Regions from separate parts of the Homo sapiens genome. Here region 2 is linked to region 1. Evidence: promoter capture Hi-C in human tissues and cell types (Jung and others, 2019). All regions are on one chromosome and are shown on one strand. Each heading gives the region's core, a stretch centred on a gene start or on the middle of the fragment in contact. The rest is flanking DNA. Distances are from core to core; before and after follow the strand shown.

What was found. Contacts are between HindIII fragments. The study calls those that stand out against the background at their distance.
Region 2: a contact is called between the fragment with the promoter of TIMM13 here and the fragment with the promoter of ZNF77 in region 1, in 3 of the 25 tissues and cell types used here (dorsolateral prefrontal cortex, psoas muscle and spleen).

The regions. Positions count from the first base shown.
Region 1 is chr19:2,941,500-2,948,086 of GRCh38, reverse strand. ZNF77 (zinc finger protein 77) reads left to right here and starts at 3,116. Exons shown (of 4, transcript NM_021217.3): 1 at 3,116-3,249. The coding sequence starts at 3,247. RefSeq lists an enhancer at 2,721-2,880 and silencers at 2,951-3,200, 3,341-3,420. The HindIII fragment of the contact is 6,632 bases long and covers 1-5,915 here.
Region 2 is chr19:2,426,336-2,432,922 of GRCh38, reverse strand. TIMM13 (translocase of inner mitochondrial membrane 13) reads left to right here and starts at 5,337. Exons shown (of 3, transcript NM_012458.4): 1 at 5,337-5,509; 2 at 5,599-5,667; 3 at 5,877-6,587. The coding sequence starts at 5,390. The coding sequence ends at 5,975. It overlaps LMNB2 (lamin B2), which reads left to right. Exons shown (of 12, transcript NM_032737.4): 9 at 400-507; 10 at 1,021-1,140; 11 at 1,265-1,375; 12 at 1,971-4,757. The coding sequence ends at 2,012. RefSeq lists enhancers at 4,867-5,016, 5,101-5,846, 5,847-6,587 and a silencer at 5,567-5,656. The HindIII fragment of the contact is 21,330 bases long and covers 1-6,587 here.

The DNA.
Region 1 (6,587 bases), core at 1,867-4,366:
TGGTAGGAAAACAGAAAATGCGCGCACACACCTCAAATACCAAGTCACACTGTTTCCTCTGCTTTAAAACTTAACATTAGATTTCCGACAACCCTCTCTCCACCACTGCATACTAACTCTGGAAATTTAGATTCCCTTGCCCAATTCCACAAGCAACCTTTGGATCTTCTGCAAGGTACGTTGCTACATTTATTATAGTATTTATGTGTTTCTTTTCCTTTTTTTTTTTTTTTTTTTGAGACAGAGTTTTGATCTTGTTGCCCAGGCTGGAGTGCAGTGGCATGATCTCGGCTCACTGCAACCTCCACCTCCTGGGTTCAAGTGATTCTCCTGCCTCAGCCTCCCGATTAGCGGGGGTTCCAGGCATTTGCCACCATGTCCAGCTCATTTTTGTATTTTTAGTAGAGATGGGGTTTCTCCATGTTTGTCAGGGTGGTCTCGGACTTTGGACCTCAGGTGATCTGCCCACCTTGGCATCCCAAAGTGCTGGGATTACAGGCGTGAGCCACCGCGCCCGGCCTATTTATGTGTTTCTTAATGATGTAAGGTGAAAAGCTGTGCTACTGTTTACTTCTTCAGGGACTCTGATAATAGGCATGTTTTTCTTTCCTGTCTTTTGTTCCCACTGCTTCCTCTCTGACAGTTATTCCACTGTTTCCTATCACTTCCAATTTCTTTGTAGTTTCCTTGCCTCTTATCTTTGACACAATGTGAGTATCCTAAGCTTCATTAATATCCATTGATGAAGGCTGAGGCAAGCGGATCACTTGAGGTCAGGAGTTCCAGACCAACTTGGCCAGCATGGTGAAACCCCATCTCTACCAAAAAATACAAAAATCTGCCAGGCATGGTGGTGCAACATAAGACAAGCTTTGAGTAGCAAAAGATTGGAAACAAGTCCACTGTCTATTTAGAGAGACCTTGTTACATCAGCTTACATCATCTTACATCTGTAAGGAGTAAGGAAGTCACCTATTAAGATGAAGAGAGGTGGAGGATTTATTTTTTTCATTGAGCCACAAAAACAATTGTAATGCAATGTGTACACCATGGTACTTTTTAAAAATAATAAAGCGGGGGGAAACAAAACGTGTCGTTCAAATGGCGTTTTTTTGTTTGTTTTTGTTTTGAGATGGAGTCTCGCTCTGTCACCCAGGCGGAGTGCAGTGGTGCGATCTTGGGTCTGCAATCCCCGCCTCCCGGGCTCTAGTGATTCTCCTGCCTCAGCCTCCCAAGTAGTTGGGATTACAGGCATGTGCCACCACGCCCGGCTAATTTTTATATTTTTAGTAGAGACAAGGGTTTTGCCATGTTGGCCAGGCTGGTCTCGAACTCTTGACCTCAGGTGATCCACCTGCCTCAGCCTCCCAAAGTGCTGGGATTATAGGCGTGAGCCACTGCGCCCGGCCCTAGAGAATTTCTTAAAGTAAAAGGCTGTACTGTTCCTATGGTAATTGAATTCTTATTTTAACTCATTTGAGAAAATAATCATAGAAGTTTAAATAAATTTGAACTCGACGTGAAAATTCTGAATACTTTTATTCAGTTGAGCCGCAATTCCTAAAGCCTGGAACGCGACTGCTCATCTCCGAAAAGACTTTCCAGCTTGAGACAGAGTAGAAGTATAAACTCTATATCGCTTGCCATTTTACATACAAACATAATTGTCGTAATTCATGTTTTTACTGTGTCGACCTAAATAACAGGCTGTCTAAAAACGGTGGTAACAGTTCATTGCAGTGGGAATATGCGCGGCATAGCAAACTATGTGCTTATTCAGGGAGGTAAAGGAAGACAAAGGTTGTTTTTGGTTTTCATTTTTTTGAGACGGGGGTCTCTGTTGCCCAGGCTGGAGTACAATGGTGAGATCACAGCTCACTGCAGCCTCAATCCCCACGGGCTCGAGCGATCCTCCTGCTTCAGCCTATCAAGTCGTTGGGACCATAGGCGCACACTCCTTTATTCCCAGCTAATTTTTGTATTTTTTGTATATATGGGGTTTTGCCATGTTGCCCAGACTGGGACAAAGGTTTATAAAGGAAAAAAAAAATTTTAAATGAGGATTACATCATTTTTCAGAAATAATTATCCTTGTCTACAAAGATCAGTAACAAGGGTCACACCAGTCTGAGTGTCCCTGTAAAAGTATTTTTTGTTTAAGCCTGTGGTTTTTGTAGAGTCTTTTTCGTTATTAAGCATATAAATGTGAGACCTCTCTCTTCATGACCTTACGTGGTTCTGTTTGTGGGAGGGCTGCTTTTTTTTTTTTTGAGACTCAGTTTCGCTCTTGTTGCCCAGGCTGGAGTGCAGTGTCCTGATCTTGGCTCACTGCAATCTCCGCCTCCTGGGTTCAAGCGATTCTCCTGCCTCAGCCTCCGGAGTAGCTGGGATTACAGGCGCCCGCCACCGTGCCCAGCTAATTTTTGTATTTTTAGGAGAGAAGTGGTTTTCGCCATTTTGGTCAGGCTGGACTTGAACTCCTGACCTCTGATGATCCGCCGGTCTCCGCCTCTCACGGTGCTGGGATTACCGGCGTGAACCACCGCGCCCGGCCGAGAGTTTTAAGAACACAGGGAGCGCCTGGTGGGGTCCGGCCTCCTGGGGCCTCGTCGTCTGGTCTCCAGATCTCCAGGTCTCTGGACCCCAGGCGTCCGCGCCCACGCGGGACAGCACGGTGACGTCACGCACGCGGGTCCCGCCCCCACGCAGGACTCCGCCCCATGGGACTCCGTGCCCTTCCTCTCCTCCCCGCACGAGGGGCCGCTCCGAGGGGAAACTGAGTCTGGAGTTGCCGTGCAGTCAGGGAGGAGGACGCCGCGCCCTCCCTGGACTGGAGTGAGTTCTCCCAGATCCGCGGCTGCCCGGCTAGAGGGTCAGCCACGCGTGTTCTCGACGAGCCCGTCACTGAGGAGAGAATTATCCAATCAGGACAGGCAGGGGCGGGGCCTAGGGAACTGTCCAATCAGAGACGTTAATCCGAAGCGGAGCCCTGCCCAATCAAGGGCGCTAGGGGGACGGACTGGAGAATTCTCCAATCAGGGGTGCGGAGTCGACAGCACTGTCCAATCAGAGTCTCCACTTCCCGAGATCTGTCCAATCAGACCCCGAGGACGGTAAGCCGAGTTCCCCTCTGCCTTGCGCGCTTCCCCGCCTACCCCGAGCGGCTCAGGTGTCCTGTCGTGCTCACCTGCGCCGGTCGCTGGACCGCGGGGCGCTAACCCTGGAGAGCCCAGGAGCGGGCGGGACATGGTGAGTGCCGGGCGGGAGCCGAGCCCGGGCCCAGGGCGAGGTGGGGCGGCAGGAACCGGCTTCCGCCCGAGTTCGCAGCCGGAGAAAGCTGAGGGACGCGCGGGGCGGCGCACGACGAGCGCCTGGGCCCCGGGGACGTGGTCACAGCGGCCGAGGGGTAGGGCTGGGGGCAGTCTGGGGTGACAGCAAAAGCGGTCAGGGGCTCGAGGGGTAGTTTCTGGGGACAGTACAGGTCAGGAGTTTGGGGAGAGCTTGTGGGGACAGCAGAGGTGGTCAGGGGCTTGAGGCAATTTAAGTGGACAGTAGAGGTTTAAGGGGCACAGGGGCAGTTTGCGGGAACAGACACGGTCAGGGGCTCGGCGGCAGTTTGGGGGTTCAGTGGAAGGGAGTCAGGCTCAAGGGCAGATTAGGGGGCCAATAGCAGCGGTCAGGAACTCGGGGACAGTTTGAGGGGGCCGTAGAGGCGGTCATGGGTTTGAAGGGGCAGTTTTGGGGGACAGGTGATCAGGGGCTCGAAGGCAGTTTAGGGGGACAGTAGCTGCAGTCGGGAGTTTGGGGGCAGCTCGAGGGGACAGCAGAAGCAGTCAGGGGCTCAGGGGCACTTTAAGGGGGGCAGTAGAGGCGATCAGGGGCTTGAGGGAAGTTTGGGGGGACAGTAAAGGGAGTCGGGCTCGAGGGATGTGTTGGGGGACAGTAGAGGCAGTCAGGGGATCGGGGAGAGTGGGAGGAGAGGGCAGGAGCCGTCAGGGGCTTGGTGGTCAGTTTGGGAAGGTCTGCCAAGGAGGAGGTGGTGCCCTGTCCTGGAGCCTGTCAAATAATAAAATCCTGGGCCGGGCGCGGTGGCTCACGCCTGTAATCCCAGCACTTTGGGAGGCCGAGGCGGGCGGATCACCTGAGGTCAGGAGTTCCAGACCAGCCTGGACAACATGGCGAAATCCCGTCTCTACTAAAAATACAAAAATTAGCCCGGCGTGGTGGCGGGCGCCTGCAATCCCAGCTACCAGGGAGGCTGAGACAGGAGAATGGCGTGAACCTGGGAGGTGGAGCTTGCAGTGAGCCGACATGGCGCCGCTGCACTCCAGCCTGGCGACAGAGAAAGACTCCGTCTCAAAAACAAAAACCAAAAAAAAAAAAAAAAAAAAAAATCCTGGCTAGAGAAGGAGAGAGAAAAATAGGGATAAGCCCCAGCCTCCGAAACCTGCCAGGTCTCAAAATCAACCAGGAAAAGGCTTTACTTTCATACACAAGAAAAGGTTTGGAGGAACGTTTTAGGGGACAAGCAGAAAGGAGGTTGACAGTAAATGTACCTCCTCGTGGTCAGCTAGCTCAGGGGAGGTGACAGGGGACTCCACACTTACTGCTTGCTCAGACTCGGGGGGGCCAAAGTTCAGGGGCCTGCGGAGAGGACAGAAGGCTGAGTAAAGTTTGGGGAAGAAACGGGAGGCTGCGAACATGTGGTCAAGCTTGTGTAAACCCAAACGTAGTAAGGAAACTTTTATGAAAAAGGATTATTGCGAGGTATTGGGGGAGGGGGAGAAGGGGCTGTTGCAATAGGGAGAAGGGTTAGTTGGATTAGAGGCAGGAGAGTAATGCCAGAGGCTTGAGGTTCTATTGCAGTGGGGTGGGGGTATAAGCAACAGGGGCATGGGGACAGTTGATGATTGAGCTGCGGGACTAATGCTGTAGCCACAGGGAGACAGCTGCAGGGGGAGAGCTCTGTGACCGTCAAGTATGCAGGCATCTGAAGAGTTGGCTAGGCCTGGCGCGGTGGCTCATGCCTGTACTCCCAGCACTTTGGGAGGCTGAGGCAGGTGGATCACCTGAGGTCAGGAGTTCAAGACCAGCCTGGCCAACATGGTGAAATCCCATCTCTACTAAAAAATACAAAAATTAGCCGGGCGTGGTAGTGTGTGCCTGTAATCCCAGCTACTTGGAAGGCTGAGGCAGGGAGAATTGCTTGAACTCGGGAGGCAGAGGTTGCAGTGAGCCATGATCACACCACTGCACTCCAGCCTGGGCACACCTAACCTAGTGAATCATTTCTGATGACAAAGAATGGGATTTCGGAGGGTCTGAATCTGGCCTTGTCATCTGCGTGAATCTTATCTAAGTCGTATGGGAAGGGAGGGTCCTGGCTGTCCCAATTCCAGAGCACAGCAGGACGGGGTTTCACCTTTGCTGGTTTCCAGGAGCACAGAGCTGAAGTCAGTTCAACATTGTCACCTGACAGCTGCGAACAGCCTCGTCTGTGTCCAGCTCAGCATTGGTATTGTTCCTATTTCAGCCCCAGGTTTTAGTAAATGTAAAATAATGAGGCCGGGCATGGGGATGCGCACCTGTGGTCCCAGCCACTTGAGAGGCTGAGGGGGGAGAATCGCTTGAGCCCACGAGTTTGAGGCTGTACCACTCCACTCCAGCCTGGGCAACAGAGCTAGACCCTGTCTGGAAAAAAAAAAAAAAAAAAAAAGAGCCGGGCGCGGTGGCTCACACCTGTAATCCTAGCACTTTGAGTGGCTGAGGTGGGCGGATCACAAGGTCAGGAATTCAAGACCACCCTGATTGACATGGGGAAACCCCGTCTCTACTAAAAATATCAAAATTAGCCAGGTGTGATGGCAAGTGCCTGCAATCCCAGCTACTTGGGAGTCTGAGGCAGGAGAATCGCTTGAACCGGGGAGGCGGAGGTTGCAGCGAGCTGAGATTGTTTCACTGCACTCCAGCCTGGGAGACGGAGCAAGACCCTGTCTCAAAAAAAAAAAAAAGAATAAATGCTTTTTGCCTTTTTTTTCTTGTCCTTAGTGAGGGCAGTCATTGTCTTGGATGTGTTCTTTGCCTTCTGCCACTGCCTGGTGTTATACCATGGCTTAGCCCGAGAAGGCTGCTGTGGAAAACTCTCAAACTCGGAAGACGTTGCATCTTCCATTAGGATGAGGGGAAAGGCGCACACACAGCCCCATGCCATATTGTGAGGTGGGCGAAGGTGTGGATTGAAAACATTCATGAAACTAGCACTGACTTAGGCAGGGTGCAGAGTTTGTGACAGTGGGGGACCCTGCTCCGTCTCCTGTTAGTATCTGCGCATCAGACAGATGCGCATTCTGTAATATACGACCCACAGTACAGAGAAGCGGCAATTCCGATTAGGGGACTGACGAACAATTTATCATGAGGATAATCATTAACTGATACCTGTTTTCTGCATGAGACCCTAATCATTAACTGATACCTGTTTTCTGCATGGGACCCTTTGTGGGACAGAAAAACTTCTAGATCTTCTAGAATCCACCACTCACCCCTTTGTCCTTTAACACGGGCTGAAAGTGGTGATTTGGCTGTGT
Region 2 (6,587 bases), core at 4,088-6,587, 520 kb after region 1:
AGGGTGACGGGGCCGCCGGCCAATGCGAGGCAGGGGACAAGGTGACCGGAAAGACCGGGGCATGGGGGTAACGGGGTGACCCAGCTGATGGGGTGACCAGGGTCAGGGTGACGGGGCTGCCGGCCAATGCGAGGCAGGGGACAAGATGACTGGAAAGACCGGGGCACAGGGGTAATGGAGTGACCTAGCTGATGGGGGTGACCAGGGTCAGGGTGACAGGGCCGCCGGTCAGGACGAGGCAGGGGACAAGGTGACTGGAATGACCAGGGCATGGGGGTAATGGGGTGACCTAGCTGGTGGGGGTGACCAGGGTCAGGGTGATGGGGCCACCAGCCAGGGCGATGGGGGCGGTGTCACAGTCCTGGTGGCTGAGGGTCAGGTGTGTGCCGTGTCTTCCAGGATCAGTCTCTGGGGAACTGGAGAATCAAGAGGCAGGTCTTGGAGGGGGAGGAGATCGCCTACAAGTTCACGCCCAAGTACATCCTGCGCGCCGGCCAGATGGTCACGGTAGGTGGTGGGGCAGGAGGGCGAGGGTGGCCACGGATGGGGTGTGAGGTGGGGTCAGGGGACTGGAGGCACAGGACTTGGCGGGGGTGGGTGGGGATGATGGTGGCACCAGGCACCGTCTCAGAGCGGCTGCCGCAGTCATAGAACCTCCATGTGCTGGTGTCACCCCACTGGGCCTCCCTGGAGCCTGAGTGGTGTGCCCTGGGTCTGAGTCCAGGCTGCTGGGGCTGGCAGGCGTCCCCGTGAAGTGTTAACAGTCAGGCGCATGGGCCATGGAGCCTGGTGGGTGTCAGATCCCAGTTCAGCCCCTGCTTGCCAAGAGCCCTTGGCCTCTGTGAACCCTGGTCTCTTCTTGTGTATCCTGGGGACCATCACCCTGGATAAGCCTGCGTCGGGCTGGAAGGACTGAACGCCCAGGGCATTGAAGGGGGCTTTGTGGTAGGGGCCACTGGCTGGCCCACGTCCCTGGAACCAGAGGTGACCCTGATGGGGCCATTGTTATTGGGTCCTCAGGTGTGGGCAGCTGGTGCGGGGGTGGCCCACAGCCCCCCCTCGACGCTGGTGTGGAAGGGCCAGAGCAGCTGGGGCACGGGCGAGAGCTTCCGCACCGTCCTGGTTAACGCGGATGGCGAGGTGGGTGTGTGTGGCTTGGGGGGTGCTCGGCTGGAGTCCTGGGCAGGGTCTGGGCACCCTCGGGGCCGCCACAGCAGCTCTGGGCCCGATCCCGGGACATGCCGCCGTGTCCTGTCCCGCACAGGAAGTGGCCATGAGGACTGTGAAGAAGTCCTCGGTGATGCGTGAGAATGAGAATGGGGAGGAAGAGGAGGAGGAAGCCGAGTTTGGCGAGGAGGATCTTTTCCACCAACAGGTAGGACCCCTGTGCCCACTTGCGGCTGGGGGGCAGCCTCTGGGGCAGAGTGAGCTCGTGCACACACATACACATGCGTGCTGGCCGCATCCCCGACGGGAGCTCCATCTGGCTGCCGTGGCTCAGGGTGAAGCCAGCCTTGGCTGTTACCAGCACGGCAGAGACCTGTTCTTGCCTCCTGGGTCGTGCCCATCGTGTGAATTTGCGACATCACAGACCTCAGGGTAGCTGGCCAGGGGGTCCCCTGAGAGGTGGGTGTTGAACAGCTCCCCAAATGCTCTCTGGTCAACCGGCTTCCTCAGTCGAAGACACAGGTCCCTTCAATACTGGCTTCTGGGGAGAAGATGAGTGCAGAAACCACAGCTGCATTAAACGCGTGCGTCGCAAGTTCCTGTGACTGTTTTGGAACCCAGAACAGAATGTGTAGCTCACAGGCGGGCTCATGGGGACATGGAAGTGGAATGGAAGGCTCTAGAAATAGACACTGTTGTTGCTCAGCCCCTCCCTGGTGGGGAGGTGGGGGCAGCCATCTACCTGCCGGCTGCCTCCAGGCTGGCCCTGATCATGGCCGACCTTCCTTCCTTCCTTCCTGCAGGGGGACCCGAGGACCACCTCAAGAGGCTGCTACGTGATGTGAACCCACACTCCTCATCCACACACCTTTCTTTACCCAGAGCCACTGAAAACTATTTTTATATCATTGGCTTTCTTTAGTTCTTGATACATTTCTAGAGAATTTCTAAGCGAACTGCCAGAACGTGTGGGTGGGTCTCCCCCAGCCCTCCCTCCTGGCGGGTCTCCTCCAGCCTCACTTCGCTGCCACTTCGCCGCTGCCCCGGAGACTTTTCAATCCCACCCCACTCCTCATCTCACCATTTGGTCAAATTGGAAGCCCAGGGCCAGGACCCGGAGGTTTAGAAGATGCTTGGGCTTGGAGGGAGGAGGGCCGGCGAGGCTAGCGAGGGGACAGGAGACGGCCCTGCTGCGGACGGAGCGCGGAAACTGCGTAGGAATTCAGTGGTGGTGGGTTTTTTTAAGGCTTTCTACAAAACCAAATTCAGAATCCAGGCGTCGACCTGGTGGGGCCCGGGGCCAAGCCTGCATTCTGGCTGCCCAGCTTCGGACAGCGGGAACTCCTCAGGCAGCCACGCAGCGGGTGTGGGCCAGCATGGGGATGGCGTGGCCCCCAGGGCGGGTTTTCACTCCGCTGCCTGGGCTTCCAGATTCCCGTTCTGGCAGCGCACCGGCCGGGTTTCTCGGACCGTTGACTTTATTTGGGGGAGTTTTCCCGCAGTTCAGTTCCTGACTGTGCAAGGCCAACAGGGCAGGGGAGGGGAAGACCTGGGGAAGGAAGAATGAGGACAGTCCCGTCGTAAGACCTGTCACAACAATAAGCAGGGAGGGGAGATGTGGAGGGGACACATCTGGTTGCCTTGGAGGCAGAAGCTGTGAGTTTCAGAACAGCTGTCTGCAGGGAACGCCACCATGTTGACCCTCTGGAGGAGAGCGCTGTGGAGCCCCTCCCGTGTTCCAGCTCCGTCTGCCCTGTGCCTATATATACACATGCGTCTATCCATACTGTGCTTTTATCTGTGATTTTCTCGCTGAAACCATGTTTCTCAGACAGGCCAAGGCCACCTGACTCCTATCACGACGCACCCAAGCCCCTCAGTCCAGCTTCCCAATGCCTGGCACCCCCCTTCGGCAATAGCTCACCGTTTACACCCTCCCTCATAGATACACAGAAGTTATTTTTTTAATGGATATTTATTTTTTTACATTGGTCAGTACACAGGTCAGGAGCTCACGCCAGGGCCTTGAGGACAGGCTGACCCTCCTCCCCGGGGTGGCGTGGGGCTGGGGCACCCTCCGACGGCAGAGCCTCCTTCAGAAAGTGCAGCTCAAGTCTTAAAGACACCAAAACTGAGCCATGGGCACGCGCCGTCTCCGGGCCATGGCGTTCACTGCAGGGCGGGGGCGGCACCGCTCCCCTGTGACTGCATCCCGCCTCCCTGGGGACCTGCCTGTGGCAGGAAGGAATGGGGGGCCCCAGCCCCAGGCCGGGAAGGAGCCAGCGGCCGACAAAGCAGAAACACCCGCTGCTCCACGTAGCCCCTGCTCGCTGTCCTTGCTCTCAGAAGTCCCGGTCCCATGTAGATAGAGGGGGGCGCATCTTACCAAAGCATTTCCTCCTGGAGGCTACGCCGCTGTGCTCCCAGTCAGGCGGCTGGTAGGGAGCTTTGCCTGCCCCGGGGATACCCTCTGCCAGCCGCTGGAAGTGGGAATGCTGGCGACAGACTGTGTCCTCTTTCCCACCTTCATAGCAGGAATCACCCGGACCCGACTGGCTGGGCTTCGTGCTAGCGAGGGTTCTGGGGGTGGGTCTTGGTGATCTTGTCCTATGGGGAGTCTGCAGTGGTCTCAGCCACATCCTATGTATTTTGGCTCTGGAGGAGCAAAGCTGTATCCTGGAGTTGGTCTGTGATTTGCCGACAGCCTTGCAGGCTGGGCTCAGGGACAAAGTCCCCCCCAAAACCCGCAGGTCCTCATGTCCAGACGCTGCCCAGTCCTGTCCTGAAAACAGCACGCCCCAGGCCCACAGAACCCCCCACCCTACATTTGCCTTGGGTGGAGCTGGGGGTGGTCCTAGGACTGCGGGTGCCCTTAGCTGAAGGGGGTGGGGAGAAGCGTGGACTGGGCAGCCTGTGGGTAATTGGAGGTTCATTGAGAATTGAGTCTTTGGAAACACTAAGAAAATCAAATTTTTAAAAGTTATTTATGGCCTGGGAAACAATTTGCATTTGTCCCCAAATACGCTTAGCTGTGTGCCGCTTAGAACGATGCGAAACCATCCCTCTGTGTAAGCCCGTGCCGTGTGACTCGAAGCCTAGCGCCCTCCCTGCGAAGCATCAGACGCCACCCAGCCCTGGGGGGAGGCCCACGCCTGCTGGACCAACGCGGGTTCTGGGGTGCACAGCGCCAGGTTAACGCTGAAGCCTGCCCCGCTGAGCCCAGGAGCCGGGAGGCCTGCGGGCTGACCCAGAATCCGATCATGCACCTGTCCTCATGCCAGCGGCTTTGGCTGGGGTTGGTCTGAAGCCTGCACGCGGCAGTTCTTTGTTAAAGATCTGAGGGACTCCTCAGTCCTGGGGCGTCGCCGCCTGCAGCCTCTTCCAAGCCCTGCGTCCAGCGAGCGTCACAGCACAACCTGCAAAAACGGAGCTGGGCTGCAGCTGGGGCTGGCATGGACTTTCATTTCAGAGATTCGGTTTTTAAGAAGATGCATGCCTAATGTGTTCTTTTTTTTTTCCAATGATTTGTAATATACATTTTATGACTGGAAACTTTTTTGTACAACACTCCAATAAACATTTTGATTTTAGGTTCTGCCTCTGAGTTTATTCCTGAGGGGAAGCTCGAGCCGGGGCCTCTGCCCTAATGAAGCGGATGTCTAAGAAAGATCCCTCCACCCCCAAGGAAAAAGGTCACTGGCTAGTGTAGCTAGTGTAAACAGGACCCAGGCGATGCATGGGACCCTGCCCTTTTTTTTCTAGTGAGCCTCCGACGCTGTTGCACAAGCTGACTCTTCGTCACGTGATGCGACCGGGCTCCGCCCCGGCGGCAACACGCTGTATAGACGCGCCGGGTGCCTCGTGCGCATGCGCGGCAGGCCCTTCGGGACGAGCTGGAGGCAGAGCGTGAGTACAAAGTGATCGGCCTCGGCCGCACGTAGTAGCCCCCCTACTCCCCGGCCAAGTCAGGGCCTCCCTCTTCCCGCGGAGTCGCAACCACGGGTAGCTCGTGTAGGTAACGGCAGGTCCAGGCCTCCGCATGAGCGGAGGGCCCCCCGCGCGACCTTGAATGGCCCGGGCGCGCGCGGTCGTGTGGGAGTTGTAGTCCTCCGTCCCCGTCCGCGCGGACTCCGTTTCCCGTGGTGCCCCGGGCGGCCCGCTTCCGGCGCAGTTAGTTACGAGTCGGCGCACGCGGCCTCGGTCCGGTTGACTTTGCGGAGCCATGGAGGGCGGCTTCGGCTCCGATTTCGGGGGCTCCGGCAGCGGGAAGCTGGACCCAGGGCTCATAATGGAGCAGGTGAAAGTGCAGATCGCCGTGGCCAACGCGCAGGAGCTGCTGCAGGTGCGGGGCTGGCCGGGGACGGGCGCTGGGGGCGACAGGGCCACCCCTGGGGGCCGACGTCGCGGCTAAAGCCTCGCGTGTCTCCACAGAGGATGACGGACAAGTGTTTCCGGAAGTGTATAGGGAAACCTGGGGGCTCCCTGGACAACTCCGAGCAGGTGAGACCCGCGGAGGTTCGGGGCAAGGGTCGCGAGGGCCTAGATTCGAGGGGGGAGGTGTCTGCGCGTGCGCAGACTAACGGGGAGGTGCGACGGAGTGGTCACTGCACGTGCGTAGTCTGCAGCCCGGGCGTCCTGGAGCCGGGGTCAGGGCGGTCCCCGGGGCCGCGAAGTCCCGAGCTGAGCCGTGCGCCCCTCCGCTCCCGCAGAAGTGCATCGCCATGTGCATGGACCGCTACATGGACGCCTGGAACACCGTGTCTCGCGCCTACAACTCGCGGCTGCAGCGGGAACGAGCCAACATGTGACCGGCGAGCGCGGGCCACCCCACCCTGTTCATTTCCATAAACGTGCTTTGAGAGGCGGGGTCCGCATGTACGTACTGCCTGCCCGGGGCTTAGGAGGGTGGCACCGGTGCTGGGACACACGGGACTGTGTCCTCGCCACCCCCCGCCCTGCCCCCTGCCAGCCAGTGCAGCTTGGATCTCGGGGGTGTGGGGCCCTGTGCCTTCCTGAAGTGCTGGCAGCCCAGTGGCACCTCCTTCAGGCCTTTGGGGTATTCCCCTAGTGTGCCCAAGTCAGCCTCATATTCTGGGCGGACAGCTTGTCTGGACTTCGGAGTTGGGGGTGGTCAGACACCACAGGAGCTGTCACCTCCTGCGGATGGGCAAATAAATTGGTGGAGGACGGAGAGAAACCTCTTTATTTCCCTCCTGAGGGGTCTCTGGGAAGAGGTGACGCGTGTCCCTGGAACCCCAGCTCGGAGGGTCTCAGCCTCCCCTGGGTTGGGAGAAGTCCATCTTTCCCCTTAGTGCCACCGGGCTGCTGAGTCACGAGGAATGTGTTGCTGCTGCCACCCCTGCCCCAAAGGCTAAGGGGGACAGCCTTCCCCTTGTCAGGGCTTGCTTTGACCCTGCTTC